Linked DNA regions of Homo sapiens: regions 2, 3, 4, 5 and 6 are each linked to region 1. The links are contacts of gene promoters, found by promoter capture Hi-C in blood cells and fetal thymus (Javierre and others, 2016). All regions are on one chromosome and are shown on one strand. The core of a region is centred on a gene start or on the middle of the fragment in contact, and the rest is flanking DNA. Distances in the headings are between cores, read along the strand shown. Region 1 holds the start of MMP27 (matrix metallopeptidase 27). Region 2 has its middle 40 kb from the start of MMP13. Region 3 has its middle 24 kb from the start of MMP7. Region 4 overlaps LOC124902740 (a long non-coding RNA gene). Region 5 has its middle 23 kb from the start of MMP7. Region 6 has its middle 24 kb from the start of MMP13.

The links. Contacts are between HindIII fragments. The CHiCAGO score rates a contact against its expected background, and 5 or more counts as called.
Region 2: a contact is called between a fragment that was not itself captured here and the fragment with the promoter of MMP27 in region 1, in 3 of 17 cell types (M1 macrophages, M0 macrophages and monocytes). The highest score is 6.4, in M1 macrophages.
Region 3: a contact is called between a fragment that was not itself captured here and the fragment with the promoter of MMP27 in region 1, in 2 of 17 cell types (M0 macrophages and M1 macrophages). The highest score is 5.8, in M0 macrophages.
Region 4: a contact is called between a fragment that was not itself captured here and the fragment with the promoter of MMP27 in region 1, in 2 of 17 cell types (M1 macrophages and M0 macrophages). The highest score is 6.1, in M1 macrophages.
Region 5: a fragment that was not itself captured here is called in contact with the fragment with the promoter of MMP27 in region 1 in 2 of 17 cell types (M0 macrophages and M1 macrophages); the score reaches 6.8 in M0 macrophages.
Region 6: a fragment that was not itself captured here is called in contact with the fragment with the promoter of MMP27 in region 1 in 5 of 17 cell types (M0 macrophages, M1 macrophages, monocytes and 2 more); the score reaches 10.3 in M0 macrophages.

What each region holds. Positions count from the first base shown.
Region 1 is chr11:102,703,898-102,707,244 of GRCh38, reverse strand. It overlaps MMP27 (matrix metallopeptidase 27), which reads left to right and starts at 1,476. Exons shown (of 10, transcript NM_022122.3): 1 at 1,476-1,632; 2 at 2,470-2,708. The coding sequence starts at 1,531. The HindIII fragment of the contact is 3,149 bases long and covers 1-1,676 here.
Region 2 is chr11:102,913,572-102,917,146 of GRCh38, reverse strand. No RefSeq gene overlaps it. Among named protein-coding and RNA genes, the nearest start is that of MMP13, 40 kb to the left of the region's middle. The HindIII fragment of the contact is 6,898 bases long and covers 1-3,575 here.
Region 3 is chr11:102,553,202-102,556,602 of GRCh38, reverse strand. No RefSeq gene overlaps it. Among named protein-coding and RNA genes, the nearest start is that of MMP7, 24 kb to the right of the region's middle. The HindIII fragment of the contact is 171 bases long and covers 1,296-1,466 here.
Region 4 is chr11:102,473,979-102,477,555 of GRCh38, reverse strand. The region is part of intron 1 of LOC124902740 (a long non-coding RNA gene); the gene reads right to left. All of the region lies in intron 1 of LOC102723838 (a long non-coding RNA gene), which reads right to left. Among named protein-coding and RNA genes, the nearest start is that of TMEM123-DT, 23 kb to the right of the region's middle. RefSeq lists a silencer at 606-655. The HindIII fragment of the contact is 5,404 bases long and covers 1-3,577 here.
Region 5 is chr11:102,505,580-102,509,078 of GRCh38, reverse strand. No RefSeq gene overlaps it. Among named protein-coding and RNA genes, the nearest start is that of MMP7, 23 kb to the left of the region's middle. The HindIII fragment of the contact is 1,479 bases long and covers 1,163-2,641 here.
Region 6 is chr11:102,930,182-102,933,769 of GRCh38, reverse strand. No RefSeq gene overlaps it. Among named protein-coding and RNA genes, the nearest start is that of MMP13, 24 kb to the left of the region's middle. The HindIII fragment of the contact is 1,728 bases long and covers 437-2,164 here.

The DNA.
Region 1 (3,347 bases), core at 227-2,726:
ATAAAAAGCTATAAAAATAATTTAAAGAAGTTACCTTTGGGGAGCAGGACTTGAAGGAGCGAAAGGTTAGGGCAGAGAGATGCTTTTTCGTTACAACAAGATAGCACCATTTGACTTCCCTTTTTCTGGTAACTCTATTTTTTTTTAAATTTTGTTCTGAAATATTTTAGAGTTTAAAAAACACAAAAGAACAATACAATGAGCATACTTGTACTTAGCATACTTGTACTTAATACCATTATAACACAAATCCTGATCATGTCTGCCTTCTCCCCTTCATCCCATTGCTCCAGAGGCCAATTAAACAATTTAAACTATATACATATATTAAAACAGTAAATAATAATATTTCTGAAACAAGATTTATAACTGGGATGAGCTTTAAATGCAAAGGAAGTATGTATCTACTTAGATCCTATAAGTTCCTCAGCTATGCCATATAAATTTTGTTTAGGATATGGACAAGGAAGATTTAGAAAGGTGTATCGATTGAGGAGTTAACATTTGGGAAGAAAGGGAAGAAAATTTTAATAATTGGTAGAAGAAAAGGGGAGGACAAGTGAGGGAGGACATTGCTGTAACTAAGACTGTTCCTTCATCTAAAAGTAGCCCAAGTAAAGAAGAATATATTGAAATTAATCCAAAAGGCTCTCACTAACTATATTCTCACTTCTGATGTTAATTTTGGCCTTCATCATCCATGACCTCTATGACTCTTCATCTTCCCAGTCAGCTGTCTTGTCCATGAGACCCTCCATCCCATCTTCCATAGCTGTCTACATATGTATTTTGTTCCAGTCAGGCCAGATTTCCTGCAGCTTATTTCTGCTGTGTTACCTCCTTCCCATGGCCTCTTTGCACTCATACTTCTTCTTCCTTCCTCTGTAAATCCAAATTCTACACATTCTCCAAAACCCAGAGCAAGCCCTAGTGCAAGCCCCAGTGCAGGCTGTATTTAACTTGCATAAAACCTCAAGGCCACACTCATAAGCAATGATCTGCCTTTGGCCCTTCTTAGTCTTTACAATCTGCACTGTGTATTTGCCCACTTGCCTCCTTTTTGTCCTACATTAATTTCTGTATGTGTCTGAATTCTCCAACAAGATTGCATTCACAGGGGCAGGCAAACAGTAGGAATTCAATAAACATTTGAAGTTTATCTTAGTTAATAAGGGTAATCTGACTCCTGATTCATTTGTCTTTTTATGATAACATCCTACCAAGATATTCTGAGATTGCCTTCAAAAGAAAACTTTGCAAGGAAAAAAAAATAACTTGGAGGCTCACTTCCCAGTATATTCAATTCAGTAATAAGCACTAACTGTGTTTACTAAACAATTGCAGGCCAAGATTACAAAATCAGCTCAGTCAAAAAAAAAAAAAAAAAAAAGCAAATCATGACACACTTTATGGCAAGTGTCCCTTTCTGTTATTAATTAAATGATGATACAAGCCAATTCATGCCACGTCTCACTATTATTTTCTAAATTCTGTGCTAACAGAACCGGCTTCAGCTGAAGAAAGAGAGGAATGAAGCGCCTTCTGCTTCTGTTTTTGTTCTTTATAACATTTTCTTCTGCATTTCCCTTAGTCCGGATGACGGAAAATGAAGAAAATATGCAACTGGCTCAGGTACTGTCTTAATAAATGATATCGATGACTATTGATAAAAAGCTTATTTTATTGATTCTCTTGGGACCTAAAAAGAAAACACATTCCTGCAAAAGAGTCCTGAACTTTTTTGTGAGAAGGAACTGCTTTTCATTTGTCTATCTCTGACGATATCAGGAAATTGTGTTGGGGAGGAGGGCTGGCACAGGGAGGGGGAAAGGATCTGCTATAACTTTTAGCAATGGTCACAAATGAAGGGATGTTTAGTGCGAGGAGAAAGGAGAGAGCCCTGCAAGGTATGGAGATCACTATAAAAGCATTTCAAGACAACCAGGAGGACCCAATCTACAATTTGGAGCCCTAATCCCTATATGTATGAAAAAAAATACATTGCTTTACAGATTCCCTCTAAAAATCAGTTCAGTTAACTTTTTATTTTTGGTTAAAGCAAATACATGTGCAAAATGGATAATCACTTATTTATCCTAGAACTTGTTTCAAAGAAACACCAAAATGAAAGTAACAGCAAAAATATGTAAGATAGGTCATCATTCAACAGACAGACGAAGCTTCATTCTCTTCTGTGGAGGTTTAAGAGCTGCGTGCTTTGGCTAATTCTGGTCACTCATAAGTCAACCAAGTCTTGGAAATTGAAAGAGCAGGGTGACTCGTTATTTTCCTCTTTGTGTCCTTCCTTTCTTCTTTCCTCCTTCACTCCTCACTTTCTCTCATTACTTCTTTTTTTTCCCCTTTCCTATTGCCAGAAGGAATTTTAGGCAATTTTGCTTTATCCTGAGATGGAGATTTGCTCTCCTGTAGTCTGTGCCTCTTTTTTTTTTTTCTTATCTTTTTGGTCAGGCATATCTCAACCAGTTCTACTCTCTTGAAATAGAAGGGAATCATCTTGTTCAAAGCAAGAATAGGAGTCTCATAGATGACAAAATTCGGGAAATGCAAGCATTTTTTGGATTGACAGTGACTGGAAAACTGGACTCAAACACCCTTGAGATCATGAAGACACCCAGGTGTGGGGTGCCTGATGTGGGCCAGTATGGCTACACCCTCCCTGGGTGGAGAAAATACAACCTCACCTACAGGTAATGCTTCTGCCAGCTTATTTCCGCCTAATCCAAAGGAACATAAAGATAATTTCCAAGGAACAGAATAATATTCATTCAATTGACTGAGCACTTCCTGTGTGCACAGCACATCTTAGGCTCCATTTACGGTATCTTCCCAACAAACCTGTGCTGTAGGCTCTGCTGCTACCACCATCTTAAATACAGAGAAACTGAAACAAAAGTTTATTTACCGTGGCTGAGGTTACACAGCTCTTACTGGCTCCAGCAGACATGCTCTCATCTCTAGCCTCTGCCACCATCATATAAGCTCCCAACAAATACTGTCATCTGACTGCAGATACTTGACAGCATGAATGAAGGGTGCCCAAGAGAAAATGGGGAGACCCTGGAACACAACCAGTTTATGTCAGAGACATGTGTGTGTGAGAGAGAGAGTTGCCAAATCTCAGATGAGCCCCTCAGAGCAAAGTAGGGTGTTTCCCTCAGACATCTCAAGGAAAAGGGGGCAGGCTGACTCATTGGCAGGAAGAGGATGAGGTATGCCTTTGATCTGAGACAGAGACAGTCACCTTGACCATCACTCTACAGCCTTTCTGATAGTTCTTCTTTCATCTTACTGAGTGCTAGGACTTGAGATAAAAATGAATTTAGCAA
Region 2 (3,575 bases), core at 112-2,611, 210 kb before region 1:
CGAACCCCTGACCTCAGGTAATCTGCCTGTCTTGTCCTCCCAAATTGCTTGGATTACAGGCGTGAGCCATCACACCCAGCCTATAATACATTTTTCCTTCCTTCCTTCCTTCTTTCTTTCTTTTTCTTTTCTCTCTTTTTTTTTTTTTTTCCAGAGTCTTGTTCTGTCACCCAAGCTGGAGTACAGTGGTACAATCTCAGTCTCAGCTCACTGCAACCTCCACCTTCCAGATTCAAGCGATTCTGGTACCACAGCCTCCTGAGTAGCTGGGATTACAGGTGCATGCCCCCATGCCTGGCTATATTTTGTATTTTTAGTAGAGATGGGATTTCACCATATTGGCCAGGCTGTTCTCAAACTCCTGACCTCAAGCGATCTGCCCACCTGAGCCTCCCAAAGTGCTGAGATTACAGGCGTGAGTCACCACACCTGGCTAATACATGTTCTCTAACCATCCATCTGTCGATGGACATTTAGGATATTTCTACATCTTGGCTGTTAGGAATAATGCTTCATTGAACATGGGAGTGCAAATACATCCTATTTTCAGTTGTTTTGAATAAACATTCAAAAGTGGTATTGCTGGATCACTTGGTAGTTCTATTTTTAATTTTTGAGGAATCTTCAAACTCTTGTCCACAGTGGCTGCGCAATTTTACATCCCCACAAACAGTATATTAAAGTTCTAACTTCTTCACATCCTTGTCAACACTTGTTATTTTCTGTTTTATTTAATGATGCTATCCTAACAGGTGTGCAGTAATATCTCATTGTAGATTTGATTTGCGTTTCTCTGATAATTAGTGATGTTGAACATCTTTTCATATACCTGTTGGCCATTTGTATGTCTTCTTTGGAGAAATGGTTATTCAGTCCTTTGCCCAATTTTTTTAAAAAATGGGTTATCAGTTATTTTTGCTATTGAGTTGTAAGAGTCTCTTATATATTTTGGATATTAATCCCTTATCAGATATATGGTTTGCAAATATTTTCTCCCATTCCATAAGTTGACTCTGTTGATGGCTTCCTTTGCTACACAGAAGCATTTTAGTTTGATGGTGTCTCACTCGTCTATTTTTACTTTTGTTGCCTGTGGTTTTAGGGTCATATCCAAGAAATCAATGTCAAGACCAATGTTATCAAGGTTTTTCCCTATGTCTCCTTCTAGAGTTTTTGTAGTTTCAGGTCATATATATATGTCTTTAATCCATTTTGAGTTGATTTTTGTGTATGGTATAAGATAAGGGTCTAATTACATTTTTTGCATGTGAATAATGTTTTCTCATTTTTAAAAGTTGAGTATTGAAATCTCCCACTGTTATTGTACTGCTATTTCCCTATTCACTTCTATCAATGTTTGCTACATATAATTGGGTCCTTGGATGTTGGTTGCATGTATGTTTATAGCTGTTTATCTTGCTGGTGAATTCACCTTTTTATCAATAAATAATGTCCTTCTTTGTCTTTTGTCATGATTTTTGACTTAAAGTCTATTTTATCTGTCTTTGAGTTCACTGATTCTTTCTTCTGCTTGACTAAGTCTGCTGTCGAACCCCTTATCTTAATTTGTTGGGCTACTATAACAAAACACCTTAGACTGTGTTGCTCATAAACAACAGAAATTTGTTTCTCAAAGTTCTGGAAATCGAGAAGTCCAACATCAAGGTGCCAGCAGATTTGGTGCCTGGTGAGGGCCCACTTTCTTCATAGAGGAAGATCTTTCCACTGTAACTTCACATTGTATTCTGCAGCTCCAGAATTTTTGTTTGGATCTTTTTTATATTTTCTCTTTGTTGACATTCTCATTTTGTTCATGTATCACTTTCTTGAGCTCTTTAAGCATCTTTATAACATCTTGACTTTTTTCAGGCAACTCATATACCTCTGTTTCTTTAGGATCATTTTTTGGAGGTTTATTTTGTTCCTTTGATTGGGCCAGGCTTTCTGTTTCTTTGTATGCCTTGTAACTGTGTTGGGATCTACACATTTGAAAAAACAGCCACCTCTCCCAGTCTTTATGGGCTGACTTTGAACAGGAAAATACCCTCACCAATTATCCCAGCTAGAGATTCTGGGGGTCTCTCAAACTTTTTCTGTGGGTGCATTATCTCTGTCTTTGAGCACATAAATTCTGAATTAGAGGGATTTGCCAGTTTATTTTTGGAGGAGCTCACGATCTCTTGCTCCCTCTGGTGTCTGTCTGCAACACTGAAGATTTTCTGGAGCTGCTTCAAGCTGCCCCATTCTGTTTTGGCTTTAGCAACCTCCAGGCTTCTAGCATATTCCAGGTCCTGTCAGTGCTGTGAGACTAGGGATACAGAAACCAGTGTCTTGGGCAGCTCCCAGAATAGTTGGAACATGGACATACATGGAATTCTTCTCTTTCTACCCCAACGAGGAGGCTATGGAGCTGTGTTGGCCTCTATCTGCTATACCACAGGTCCTCCTAAGCAGTATCAAGCTGCCCAATTCTTTTGTTGTCAGTGGTCCCTACATCTCTATATTGTCAGGTCCTGTCAGTGCTCTGAGACAGGTGAGACAGAAACCAATCCCTTGGCAGCTCCCTGAAAAACTAGAACATTGAACACATGCTCCAGTAATTTTCCTCCCCAGGGAAAAGCCAGGAGTTGGTGGTTTTCTCCTACTTATTTTACAATGAGCCAGGAGGAGCAAGTACATCAAGTGAGTGCTGCAAATCTTCACCTTTGTTCTTAGCAGCCTTCAACCTGACACTCTTTCCTGTCTGCACTTAGATTCAGGCAAGACAGAAACCAGTCCCTTGACCAGCCCCCTAAAGAGTCTGAATGTTGGATGTACTGTCTAGCCTTCTCTTTCCCTCCGCAAGCAGAAGACAGTAGCTAGAAGTTTTCTTTTGATAATTCACACTGAAATGGGAGAAAGGACTATGGTGAGTGAGTGCCATGAGTTTTTCTACTGGCTTTAGTGAGGCTGGTTTTGCCTTCCCTTGAAGTGCAGGAACCTCCTAACTTGTTTCTGGTTTTCTTATAAAGGGAATTGATTTATGTATTCTTGTTGATTCAGTGTCTCCCCGCAGGGAAGTAGAGTCTGGCCCTTCCTATTCTGCTATCTTGCTGACATAACCCCTTAGATGGTTTATATTTTGTGGTTTGCATCTTAATTTGCCAACACTCAGCAAAGTATAAATTTTACTGTATGAAAATTATACATATTTTACTGTATGAAAATTATACATAATTATGTATGTAAATTATACTTCAATGAATATGACTTAAAATAAACTAATAAAAAAATTAATGTAACAAAAAGTTTAAAAAAATCCAAACAACGATATAACCTAAACTCTCCTGGATATTCTCCCTTGATACCCAGCAATTTATGTATCATTAAGTTCCATTTAGAATACGGCTTTGTATCGATAAAATTTTCTTTTCTTTATATTTTTTTGGTAGAGATAGGATCTTCGCCATATTAGCCAGGCTGGTCTTGTACTCCTGGACTCAAGCAATCTGTTCACCTCGGCTTCCCAAAGTGTTGAGATTACAGGCGTGAGCCACTAAAATAGGCCAAAATTTTCGAATGTATGGTCTGTGCTT
Region 3 (3,401 bases), core at 132-2,631, 150 kb after region 1:
ATGCCCAGAGCACTGACATAATGACATAAAAGAGTGCATTTGTATTGACTGCCTTCCTACAGCAGGCAAAATGGTTGTCGCAAAGTCACATCTTTCCTTTTTCTCAGAGTTGGCAATCTCTGAAAAGTGGTTTGTGAAGCTCGCTCCACCTAGAAGCAGGGTGATATATGGGAAGAATATAAAGTTGATGGTCACTCCTCTATGTTCAAATCCTGTCCGACTTTATAAACTTGCTCAAATTACTCCTTGAGTTTGTTTTCCTGAATGAAAAATGGGGATGCTAAACACAGTAAACCGTTTGCAGAAATGGCCACAGTAATTCTTACCAGCCCTGTACATGTGCCCACTTAAATGTGAATTTGCCACTCCTTTTATATTGAAGTGGAATTTATTTTTTTATTCCTTAAATCTAAACTTCAATTTGGGCTTGAATAGGGCATTATCAAATGTAATGCAAGCAGAGGATTGAAAAATATGTACACATTGGAGCTTGAGTTGTCTTGCTGTTAGAAACCCTGAGACCACCATGTGAAGAATTATCAGCTAGTCTTCCAGAGAATGGGAGGTTATACAGAGAGAAGTCAGCCATTTAAGCCATTTTAGCTGCCTCAAAAGTCCCAGCCTTCCCAAACATCCCAGCCAACCATAGATACCCAAAAGCTAGATAAAATGTTTATTTTAAGCCACTGTGTTTGGAGTGATTTATTACATAGCAAAAGCTGATACAATAAAATAATGATTACTAATGTGCATAAAACGTGTTACATGGTGTTAGTTCAATAAATGACTACACAAATAAATATTAAGTGACTTAGTACAATTTAAGCTTGTTGTAGAAAAGGAAAAATTATCTCTACCACTGAAAATATTTCCTATCACATAATAGCCTCCTAATAATTTTTTGAATACATTGACAGAGACTAGTTGCCATTCTTTCTCACAGCACAGAATTGCTTTAATGTAATGAAGAATATATTTCAAGATCTCTCAAGGGCCTGTAGGGTAAAGAAGGAAAGCTTCACCTTTGCCCTCTGAAGGTTTGCTGAAAATAAACTGACAAAAGGCAGATTAATAGGAGAAAAAGTCATAAAAAATGTATTTAATGTGCATAAGCATGGGAGAATCACAGGAAAATGATTGCCCAATAATCCAATGAGGTCCGGATGCTTATATAGCCTTCTTCATACAGCACGGAGTAAATAACAAAGTTCCTTTGAGCTCGGAGGGAGGTGGTGAGAAGGCAAGGGGCAGAACTTCACAGTGAACAAAGGTAGTCTTATTATCCAGTTAAAGCTTCCCAGTTAATCTCCTGGAGCTGCCCTCAGAAGAATAGATGGAAAGTCTGTTTAGGCATGGTGATGACTCCCAGTATCTCCTCTTCTCTAGTGGTTAATCTTTTCTGGTTATTTCATGTGATTCTTAGGAGGGATATTTTAAGACAATTGCAATTCTCCTTGTAAGAAGCTTTCTTAGTCAGAGAAGAAAATTCCACAGAGTCCCTTCTTTCTTCATGAAGAAAAAGGATCAGAGAGACAGGGAGGAAGGGGAAGGTCAGAGAAAGACCTTGGTTCTGAGGCTTATTTCTAAGCTCCTTCAATTTTCTTTAATTCCAAGCACTCAACATGCCAAAGCACCATATTTTGGGGTATTGCTTTCTGTACCCCAAAAGGCCTCACAACTAAATTTTCAGTATATCTAATATTTTTTACTTAGATTTTCTGTTCTTTAAAGGTACACTGTGGTCTAGATCAATGTGAGTTACTAAATCCATATTGTTGGTAAAGTCTACTATTGCTATTTTATAATAGGATAGAAAAAGATTATAAAGTATCACCAAAGTTCTGAAATGGAAGTCTTAATGGAAAGGACTGCTTCTTTACCCAGGAAGAGGGTAAGTTTTGAAGAGTGTCTCTGTCTCTCAGAAATAAGATCCAAGGGGAAAAAGAAGTTCGGTAAGGTTTCCAGTAACTTCCAGCTATAACACAAAATGGAGGGAGTCAGGATGTTAGATAAGCCAACTGCTTTGTAAGATTTTACTTTGTTAGATTGGGAACATTAGTAGTTTTCCCAAGCTCGTTATCTATGCTATACTTATTTCTAAATAAGAATAAAACCCTTGAAATGAAACAAGCATGTATAATATACATTCTTTTTTGTTTGATTCCTTTTGCTCATCATTATGTCTGAAAGTCTTATTCATACTGCTGCATGTAGGTATAATTTGTTCATTCTCACTGTTGTTTAGAATTTAATTGTATGAATATATTACAATGATTTGTAATATGTTTGTCCATTCTGTTGCTAATGGACATTGGGTTGTTTCCCTGCTTTAACTGTTGCAAACGGTGCAACTATGAATATTCTTGTGAGTATCTATTAGTGAAACTCCATGTGGTAGAGAGCTTCTAAAACAGTTCTTAATGGTTCCTGCCTCTGGCTATTCTTGTCCTGTGTAATCCCCACCCTTGTGTGTGAAGTGGATGTAGTGATTCATAACAAACAGAATATGGCAAACATGATGGAGCGTTGCTCTCTAAGATTAGGTTATTAAAGGCCATGACCTTGGACTTGCTGGGGATCTCTCTCTCTCTTGCTCATTCTCACTCTCACTCTTCTTGCTTGCTTTCTCTGATGAAGCCGCTGCCTTGTTTTGAGCTGCCCTATGGAGAGTCTCAGTGGCGAGGAATTGAGGACAGACTTCTGTACGGACCTGAGGTCATCATTCCAACAACACATGAAGAGCTGAATCCTGACAACAACTTCATTGGTAAGCTTGGAAGTGGATTTTCCCCCAAACAGGCCTTGAGGTGACCACAGCCCTGGCTGACTGCAGCCTTGTGAAATACCCTGAGACAGAAGACCCAGCTCAGCCACACCTGAACTCCTGACCCACAGAACCTGCTATAATAAATGTTGTTTTGGCTATTACGTTTTGGAGTGATTTATTATTAGATAACTAATACGTATGCATTTGGGAAAGTAAAGGCCTAAGAGTATATGGAAGTGGAATTGTTTGGCCATAATCTATGCATACGTTCAGCTTTAATATATACCACTAAATTGTTTTCAAAAGCAGTCATTGTCATGTACACTCCCAACAGCAGTGTGTGAGAGTTTTTATTGAGTTCTACTGAATGATCTTTGTTATTAAGCTTTTAGTATATGCCAGCCACTAAGTGCCTTACATGTGCTGTTTCATTTAATCTTCACAACAGTTCAGTGAGGTGGGTATTACTGTTTTCTCCATTTTCAGATTAAGTGAACCTGCCCCTGTCATTTACTAAAAAGAGGCAAGCCAGGATTTTAACCCATGTCCAATGCTCTTAGCCATTAAGCCTCTCCTGAGACAGATTTCAATGCAATTATAGCCACAGAGAAAACACATGTGAAAAATAACCATC
Region 4 (3,577 bases), core at 1,078-3,577, 230 kb after region 1:
TGAACCTTTCAAAAGTTTGTATAAATCATTCCATATAGGCCTTAAGATGTTCCCCTTTCTTCTGAGTACATAATTCAACCCTAGACCACTTCACCTTAGAGGAAAAGGCCTCTAATATTGTCCCTATCAGGCCCCATAACTCAGCCATTTCCTGGTCAATTGTAGGAGGACCTGGGAGAAGTTCTGGCCACTTATTCCCTCTAGAGGTAAGACATTCATTTGGGGGCTTTCTGGAATGTCTGATAACCACAGTATAATCATGGGTGTAAAGAACACCCCTTAGTAGCCAGTGGAGGTTCCTATGAATGGGGTTATAAATGGCCACTAATCTTTCTAACTCCTCTCTAAATTTGATAGGCTCTTTCAAAAGTGGAGACAAAAGGGCTTTGTAATTTAGAAGATCTGTTTCTGTCCAAGGGACATGAATTCTTTGCAGTAGGGATCCAGGATATATTCACAGGAGGCATTGTATAGGAAGGTCTGTGGCTGAGGAGTCTGATTACAGAACACCAGGAAGTAGGAGGAGTTGTAAGGTACAGCAAAGCAAGACTAGCTGCACGTACCAGGGCCTGTGCCAGGTTTATTTTCTGGCTGTCAGCATTGACACAAGTGACCTGTATACTCTGAGCCTAGAGATCAGGCTGGAGTGCTCTCTGAAAATTTTGCAAGGAAAGGAAAGATAAAGCAGGCAGTTGATGTTTAAAGGATTTTCTAGGGAAGCTGGAGTTTTAGAACTTACATAAAAATTTGTGGAGGAGGTGGGACTGGATTTGGAGGAGAGTTTAAGCCAGTGGCCCAGAGATCAAAAGATCTTCTGGAGGATCAGGGACTGGAAGTTGGAGATAAAGGGGTATATAGGAACTGAAATTGTCTCCTTGCAAGTTTCACCCATTGTTCTTGGAATACATGTTTGCCTTCTTCACATGAGAGATTCCATATTTTTCAGAGAAAAAGATCTCATACTTCTCCCACCCTGAACCACTTTTCCAAGCTCCGTTCCTCCAATTCTTACTAACATGTTCCTAGACCTTTCACCATCTCCTTACATGCCCTGTTCTCAACATCCTTCTGATATTGAACAAAATATTCAAGAAGAGCTGTGAAACAGATGAGTACAACATAATTGAAACTGATAGCCTTAGGCCTATTCTAACAGTGTAAACATTTCAGAGCTCAGGGAATCCCTAAAGATGATCTAGTCTAAGCCCTTTACTTCACAAATGAAGAAACTGAAGTTAATTACTCATCAGAGCAAGGCACAAGACAGGCTCCTGGTCCAGTAGATAGTCAGGAGTGGACCCAAGCCTGGAATTTCAAGTTAATTATCTTATTCTATTTGAATTCTTATTCTGATGCAACACGGAAAACCCCCTGTTAGATCTGCAAGATCTAGCTCCCTGCCAAAGACTATTTATTCTCTCTAAAGAGATGATGAAATTATTTTAGAAAGAGGGCCAAATGTCCTATTTGAGAGGAATAATTTATAGTCATTTTATCTGTTTCTCATGAATTATCAGCTTCTTGGTAGCCTTTTAAAGAAAGGGTTAATAAAATAGTTTACAACTTGTTAAAAGAGCTATAGAAAATTATATTAAGTTCTTATATAAACTCTTTGTATGATACTTAAATTTTTTAGGTCAAACATAAACTGAATCTCAGTAAAAATTATAAGACAGAGGCAATTCAGCTTAAACCATAAGTGGTCCATGTCATACATCTTTTATCTCCTATAGAGAGAAAAATAAACTTAAGACTAATTTTTTAGAACAAGAAAGGATAACCCATTTGCATCCCTATTTATCACTTCCTTTCACTGTGTTCACTTTTTTCAGGAAAAAGTAAACCAAATCAAGTAGAAAATGTCAAATTTTTAGTGAAGACATTTAAACACTTCAAAAGGGTGAGCAGTTACATTCCTTTTAAAGAATTCTATCTTAATATTGATGAGAGAATAGTTAAAAAAGGATCATAAGGCCTCCTTTGCATGTAATATGTATAACGTATAGTGAGACAATTTGTAAATAATCTAGTGAAAAACTGGTTTTACTAATCTGTTTCCCTAAAATAAATCTGCCTATTTGTAATTGAGAACTTCCTGGAAAATGAACAATAAACACATAAAAGTTTTACTTTTATGTGCATTACAAACTTCGGCTGTCAACAATTTGCACAAATTATTTTGGGAAGAATCTTCTTATATACTCTTCCCTCTGAAAGACTGGTAATTTAAAATAGGAAAATGCACAATCATACAGTGTTAGAATTGCATTAGAGAGTCACATAGAGACCACTCTAGATTTTTTTTTTTTTTTTTGAGATGGAGTCTCACTCTTGTGGCCCAGGCTGGAGTGCAGTGGTGCAATCTCGGCTCACTGCAACCTCCGCCTCCTGGGTTCAAGCAATTCTCCTGCCTCAGCCTCCCGAGTAGCTGGGATTACAGGCATGCGCCACCATGCCCGGCTAATTTTTGTGGTTTTAGTAGGGATAGGGTTTCACCATGTTGGCCAGGCTGGTCTCGAACTCCTGACCTCAGATGATCCACCCGCTTCGGCCTCCCAGTGTGTTAGGATTACAGGCATGAGCCACTGCAGCTGGCCCACTCTAGATTTTTATCTTGAGAATTGCAGATAACCCTATTGGGTCAGTTTTCTTACACTGTAATCATCCTCACTTTTGATACTTCCATCTACTTCAGTGGTTTTCAAAGTGTGGTCTGGTAGCATAGACAACACCTGAGGACTGGTTAGAAATGCAAATTTTCAAGTCTCACATTAGACCTACTGAATCAGAAACTCTGGCGGAGGGGGCAGCCCCCATATTTTCATAGGTCTGCCAGGAGATTCTGATGCATGTCAAAGTTTGAGGATCAATGCTAGTCCTCTATAGCAATCCACCACATTTTGTTCCTTTATCCTTCCAAAGTTTTTACCCTTACAGGAACTATATCACCCCATAGAGATAAGAAAGGAAAAAGCAGCCCCTGACAACTGAAAGCTGGCCTGGCACTCATATTTAGGCCTTGGTGTGGAACATAAACAGTTTCACTGAACATTAACGTCAGACCAGAGCACTCTGTGATCATGACAAAAACAAGAGCACTCCATCACGATGTCTGAACAGAAAAACAAACATGTCCAAACCACAAAAATAACCAAAATATCCCCCATCCTAGCTAATATGAGAGGATCTTGCCTCTGCCAATTAAAGTTTTAGACTCAGTTTATTCCTGCCCCCTTCAATAAGATTTGTTAAAATACCCAGTCATAAAATTGCCTCTACTCCCTTGATAGCAACCAATCCTGGCAAAGCTCCACTTCTCAGTATCACCTAATACAAGCCCAAATCCTAAAATAAGCCTTTCTCACTCGCTTCTACTAAGATGTCCCAGGATGTGCAATCTGCCTTGCTATAAACGTAACCACCTAATGGGCTTGTTACAGTAGGTAACTAGTCAGACATGAGCAGGGCAGCAGAGGACCCCCCACCCCCAACACCACCGGGAATATCAGGCAACCATCAGGTGATGGTCAGGTGGTTGTTAACCATCTCTCTAAAATGATAATTGGTCACAGCCAGT
Region 5 (3,499 bases), core at 653-3,152, 200 kb after region 1:
CTGGGAGCTCTGAGCTGAGTCTCGCTTGTGGTGAGATCCCACAGGAAAGATCCCTATATTTCAAATAAGCTGCTGAAGATCCCAGAAATACTGTAAAACTTTTCTTTCCCACGCCCTGGTTGTTCATTGGTTTCTTTAGGATTTCATAAAGCATTCTAATGTTCTTCCAATAAATTATTTTTTGGCCATGCTAGCACAAAAACAAATGAATCTAACTATAAAGGGAAAAAATAGAATGTAGTAGTATTCCTCTCCTTGTTGGTGTTATTCACCATTTTTGCCATGAAACTTTCCAGAAAAATAGAGTCCAACAATGCAGAATGAAGACCAGATCAAAGGTGACTGAAGTGGTATATAAAAAAGTAAGTTAATTATTTTTTTCTCCCAGTGCCAACCTAGTGTGAAGCTAACCACAGCTGTTCTCACATCGTTGTTGTTGTTGTTGTTAAGTTGTTGTTGTTGTTGTTAATGTAAAAATAATCATATGAAACAGAAAAAATATTGAACTATGTCTGAAGTTCTGTTTTGATCCTAATTATGCTCTAACTAGTAGGGAGGACTTGGGCTTTCTTCTCTTAGCTACGGATCATCATTTATTTTAATTCCCTTCCTTTATAAAGCAAGACTTACGATCCTTCTAGTTCTAAAATTGAACGATCAACTAAAAAGATACTATTTGTTGATAATCTTTTATGATTTTAGAATCCTTTACATGTCAAAATATTTTGTTTCACCCTGGAGTAAATTTACGAATGCTACCAATTCTATTATGAAAAGCAAGGATATGAAGGAAAACGTGTGTTATCAGAATCACTCATTGGGGCTCTACAAGGGAAACAACCTAGCTTACAGAGTTTAAAACTGATATAAAAGGAGCCACTTCTCTTCACCTGGCTACTTCTGGAGTTCTTCACCTCTCAGTCTATATGTCTTGACGTCCAGAATACCTTCACTGATCTCACACTCACCTAAACCTGCTTAGATGCTCCTCTTAAGAGCTGCCTCGGTAACTAACATTTTACCCCTCACATTCATCACTTACCTCATTGAATTAACAATCTTCTGTTTAATTAAGGAGTCCACTCTAGATTGTCAGCTTCTTAATGGAATTGGATATATATATATGTGTAAAAACAGTTATTTCGGAAATTAAATGAAAGCTTCACTAACATAAACTTCCATTAAGGTTATATTCAAATTATTAAATCATTCAAGTCACTCCCAAAATACAGAAAATTGAGTTATCCACAGTACATAATTAGATCAATGCCTAAGAAATTAAGGAAAAAGAGAACTTTAAAAAGAACCACAGGTGAGGATTCTAGGAAGATGGCAGAGTTGGAACTACCAGAAATCTAGCTCCTCACCTAGATGACAATTGCACTGGAAGAATCTGTCTGATGTAACTATGTTAGAACTCTGGAGTCAATGCAAGGCTTCCATCTTCCAGGGGACAGCTTAGATAGTAAATTGTAGTGAATTTTGGTGAATTTCAGCTCTTAATACAGTAGCGGCTACCCATCCCCCACTCTAAGCCCAGTGGCAGGCAATTGTGCACCTGTTCCTGGAGCAGCTTTATATAATACAACTTTCATACAACTTTGAGAGCCAGGGTGGACGAACAGGACCCTGTCCTGCAATTATTAGGTATTTGTGCTCTGATCTCCAGATTGCTGCTTCTGATCACACAAAGAGGTTATGGCCATTGTTTTTGCATCTCCCTCACTGTTGCAAGCTCTCCCCAACTGACTGAAATAACTTCCAGGGGATTTAAACGGCCAGCACTTTTTCCTCCTTCATTTTTCTCTTTTTCCCCTTTTGGGACCAGACACTGAAGACACAACCTTAACAGACAACTGCATATACAAGGGAAATCAGAAAGCCATCATGCATGCTCTAGGGTAGGCTCAGGCTCAGAAAAGACCTGAGAAGACCTTAAGTTTATACTTCATGCTGATCCTTGGCACAGAGACCACCTATAAGAATACAAAAAAAGGCCGAGGGTGGTGGCTCACGCCTGTAATCCCAGCACTTTAGGAGGCCGAGGCAGGTGGATCACGAGGTCAGGAGATCGAGACCATCCTGGCTGACAAGGTGAAACCCCGTCTCTACTAAAAATACAAAACAATTAGCTGGGCGTGGTGGCGGGCGCCTGTGGTCCCAGCTACTCGGGAGGCTGAGGCAGGAGAATGGCGTGAACCTGGGAGGCAGAGCTTGCAGTGAGCCGAGATCACGCCACTGCACTCCAGCCTGGGCGACAGAGCGAGACTCCGTCTCAAAAAAAAAAAAAAAAAAGAATACAAAAAAAAAAAAGGCAAGGCAAACCCTAGGGATGGGAGAGAATCTGACTTCCAGAATTACCATATCATTAGATTCAAATGAGATCCTTTGGAGGAGAAGAGGCATTCTGGTTTTTGAAATATATGTATTGCTATAATGCTTGGAAAGAAATAAATACAGAGTTATTTCTAATTAAAAACAAAAATAAAGGAACACAGGGAAACCCTGGGTGGTGTTAGATATTTCTATTACCTTGATTGCGGTGTTGATATCATGGGTGTTTACTTATGTCTAAACTCAACCAATTGTACACATTAAATATGTGTAGTTATCTGTGTATCATTTATAACTCAGTAAAGCTTTTTAAAAATAATTTCAGGTGGCATAAAAGAGCTACCACAAACAAAGTCTTATTGAAGTTCCTTGGAGAAACCAACATTTACCTATGAAGAAAATGAAGAAGCATAAATTAAAAAGCAGTAATTCAGAGTTCTATATACCTGTCACCATGAACTTTCTGATGTTTCTGGTCATTTTCCGTAAACTGGAGGCCATTATCCTTAGCAAACTAACACAGGGACAGAACACCAAATACCACATGTTCTCACTTATAAGTGGGAGCTAAATGATGAGAACACATGGACCCATAGAGGGGAACAACACACCCTGATGGAGGGTGGGAGAAGGGAGAGGATCAAGAAAAATAACTAAAGGATACTCGGCTTATCACCTGGCTGATGAAATAATCTGTACAATAAATACTTGTGATGCAAGTTTACCTACGTAACAAACCTGCACATGTACCCTGACCTTAAAAATTAAAAAAAACAAACAATTAGTTTATATTTTCTTTTAATTTTTACATAAAAGAAATTTCAGGTGATTCCTTTGGCAAAGAGGAATTTTTGATTTCATTCACTAGCGGATTGAAGAACTTCTTTCTGTTTCTAATCAAAATGAAAAGGGATCATTGAAATTTCACTCAGGCTTTTCTTTTTGCTGAGGCACTGACAGGGTTCTTTGAACTGATAGAACAGACCTTAAACCAACTAAGATCAAAAGAGACAAAGAAAGCCATTACATAATGGTAAAGGGATCAATTCAACAAGAGGCGCTAACTATCCTAAATATATATGCACCCAATACAGGAGCACCAAGATTCATAAAGCAAGTCCTTAGAGACCTACAAAGAGACTTAGACTCCCACACAATAATAATG
Region 6 (3,588 bases), core at 51-2,550, 230 kb before region 1:
TCTTTCAGGTTTACAGCAGTGGTCCTCAAGTACTTCCTCTGTCTGTACAACCTCAGGGCCACTTCTCAGTTTAGTCAAATAATTAAGTGTTCGTATATCTACTGTGTATTTTTGAGGACATAAAGTTCTGTTTTAAAAATTCAAAAAAAAATCTAGAATTAAAACTAAAAACATGAATCATGGTTTTTTTTATTTGCAACTAATAAGTCTTGCCTCCCTTCATTTGGTTCTGGACAAACAGAGGGTCCTTCCTCGATGGGTGGTGGAATCAGAAGATCCTTCTGCCCTTTGTGAAGACCATTCGACCTTTTAGCCAACTACTGAACTATCCACACTAATGGTGATTATTGGCATGGGAATATGGTGGCTTAGGAAACAGGAACAAATGCCCAAGAAAAGATGCATTATTATTGGTCCACAGAATAAAGTTTAAGCTTTGTTTGAGGAAACAGTTTTTCTTTTACTAGATATCTTAGTTAGGCTAGTTTTAAAATTCATCTGTATTTCCTGAGCATATACAAAGCCAAGGGGGAACGACCCAGTGGTTTCTAAAATACAAAGAATATTAGCCAGTCATCAGGAATTTCTCTCAGGGAAAGGTGAAGACCAGATGGGATGATGGAAGCACTGTACTTGGGACATAAAACATCTGAGACTAAAATCTTGCTGGATCCTCAAGTGGGCACAGACAAAAAGTGTCGACATCCAATGCTTCCCTGAACCTATTTACTCCCATACTTACACAACTTGGCCATGCCATATGACCCAGTCAGCTGAAGTACAAGGTAGTCATTTTTTCCAAACATATGCCTGCCTTTATTTCTACATCAGTAATTGAATCAACTCTGAGGATTCATAGAGTTGCTGAAAACACCAAATCCTCTTGAGCCTTAACCCATTCTTTTAAAACCACGTGGAGTGTATGTAGTCATTCCACAGACAGCACATCGACATGGCCATACCCTTAGATCACTGAAACGTGTCTCACGCTATCCGGAGGATATGTTCATATCTCTCTGCCAGCTCCAGTAGTAACTGACAGTTGATGCTATCAACTCCCAATTCCTCCTCGAGAAAAGGAAGAAGATACTTTAAGGTGTTCCCTTCAGTGGTATAGTCATTGATGATTCTTTACTTAGTGAAGAAGGATTAAGACTTTGGACCTGGGGGTAAAAACACACCCTGTAGAAGCATAGTTTTATACCAGCTGAATGTATGTTACTGAACATGAAATCACAATCATCAGAATTGAGTCAAGTTTGAGAAGGCTCTCTGTATATCCCCTCTAGGCTAATTCCCATAGCTGGAGCTCTCAGGAGGTGGGCAAGCTACCATTAATAAAACTGTCGTCCAAATTTCTTAAAATAAAATTTAACTCTGAGTTTTTGTTCATTCCTTCCTAATTCACTAGGGATAGCAATACTGTGTATATAGCAAGTCAATTCTGATTACTGAGGTTGTTGGTATATTTCTCAGGGAGGAACTAAAATTAGGTTTAGGTTTAAAACTGAGCCAAGCCACTCATGTGAGAAGTTTAAGTAAAAAGTGCCAGAATAACATACAAAAGACACTTCAAAAGAAAAAAAAATTAAAAGTAGCAGGACATATTTAGTTCATCATATAAATTGACTGGCAGGTTAGAGTTGCAAGATATCAGATTATTTGATCTATATAATTTTACCACCTAGGGTTACACATCATTCCCATGGCAAAGTAGGTACATTCTCATGGTTGCTGACCACTGGCAACATACTTGGTGACCAAGGGCAGAGTAGTCTGGGAAATAACAGGCCCCTGAAATTAATTGGGTCTCCCTTCTTACCCTCAATGAAAGTGCAAAAACTTCCAGTATTCCAGTGACTCCCCGTGTAGCTTCTCTCCGAGGTAGTATAGTTCTACTACAATCCCTAGACAACCGCTCTGTTAAGACAGAGACTCATTTTATCTGTGTGGCACTGAGTAGTTTCATCTTTTACCTGTGACAAAGGATAGCGACTTTGGCATGCCCTCCCAGGCTGGCAGTCCCCGTTGTGATGGTTCCTGTACCTGAGCTATGGTGACGAGGTGACTGTGATGATCACCCGCAGGCCAGGGCTGGCTGTAGGACCTTGAATGAATCTAGCAGGTTTTCTGCTTTGGTGAGAGTCATGTTGGCTACAAAGCTTCCCAGGTTCATGGTCTTATTCTGACTCAGAAACACCCCTGTGTATGAAATGCTGGTCACTGGCTTAGAGGAGGGTTTAGACAACAGAAGCTGATTACAGTGTGCAAGGAGAAAGGGAAGAGAAATGGGAGGAAATAAGGGGCCTTGGAATGGAATAAGAGAAAGAAAAGACTGCATATTCTGCAGCTATTCACCCTGCTACAAACTGCTGTGCCCAAAGGGCACTTGGGAGATGTGCCTCCCACCCCAAATGAGTACACATTAAACAGTGCAGAAGTGGAATATGCTGTCTGGAGCGTGTGTGTATGTGTGTGCTCATCAGGGGAGCTATTACATCCACCTAGTCCTATTTTCCTGCAGCATGGACCACAATAAGAGCACATGAGCCCTAGAGCACAGCGACTGGAAGATCGACAGCCCAAGACTAGAGGTGGTCCCACAGCCTCTGCAGACCCAAAGATACACATTTAAATTCCCTCTCTGGAGATACCCAGAATTTCTTTTGGTGTTTTGGCCACAGCAGCACAGCTGTCAAATGTGATAATGCAGCACAGTAATGCCAAAAAAATAAAATATCAAAGTTTGAATTTGAGCTCTAGCACTTTCAAGCACCTCTGTATTTCACATTCTTGTGCATTAAAATGAAGATAGAAATACTTGCCTTGCCTACCTCACAGGTTGCTCTAAAGATTATATAAAATAGCATCCTTGAAACATGTAAATGATAAAGTATGTATTAACATGAAGTATTATTGGTTATTCCTAGATCCCAGCTCCCTCTCCCTCCTTCCCTTTTTTCCTTCTTTCCTCCCCTCCCTCCCTTTCCTTCCTTCCTTCCTTCCTTCCTTCCTTCCTTCCTCCCTCCCTTCCTTCCTTCCTTCCATCCTTCCTTCCTTCTTACATTCCTACTATCTTCTAAGATCTCCAAAGGCTAAGTGCTAAGCAATGGGGAGTTTGGCTTGCATCACTGGAAGTTATTGTTCAAATCATCTCTGAATGAATTCACTTATACCTCCTCACATTTAAACTGAAGGAATCATAAAGTAACAAACACTAACAGGAAGGAATAGAGGCACAGCAAGTTCATATGGCATATTTAGAACTCATTTATTATATAGAAAAGCATCTTTCAGATTTTCTAGACTAATAAATATTTTGTCCCTTTCTTCAGTTTTTGGTAGTTCTTTAAAATCTGTTTCTTCAAAACCTTTTGACTTTGGAATTAGGATCTTTAAGGTGTTGTACCAATAAATTTAGAAAAAGACTTCTGTCATTACATGATGTCTAAGCCAGTACAAACTAGACAGGGAAAATACAGCCCTGGAACAAGCTGAATCTTGTAGTTCATTTGTGGTTTTAAAATGATTAACTTGTGGGAAAGGAAAATCAATTATACTGTAATAAACCTTATTACAGAGAAAAGC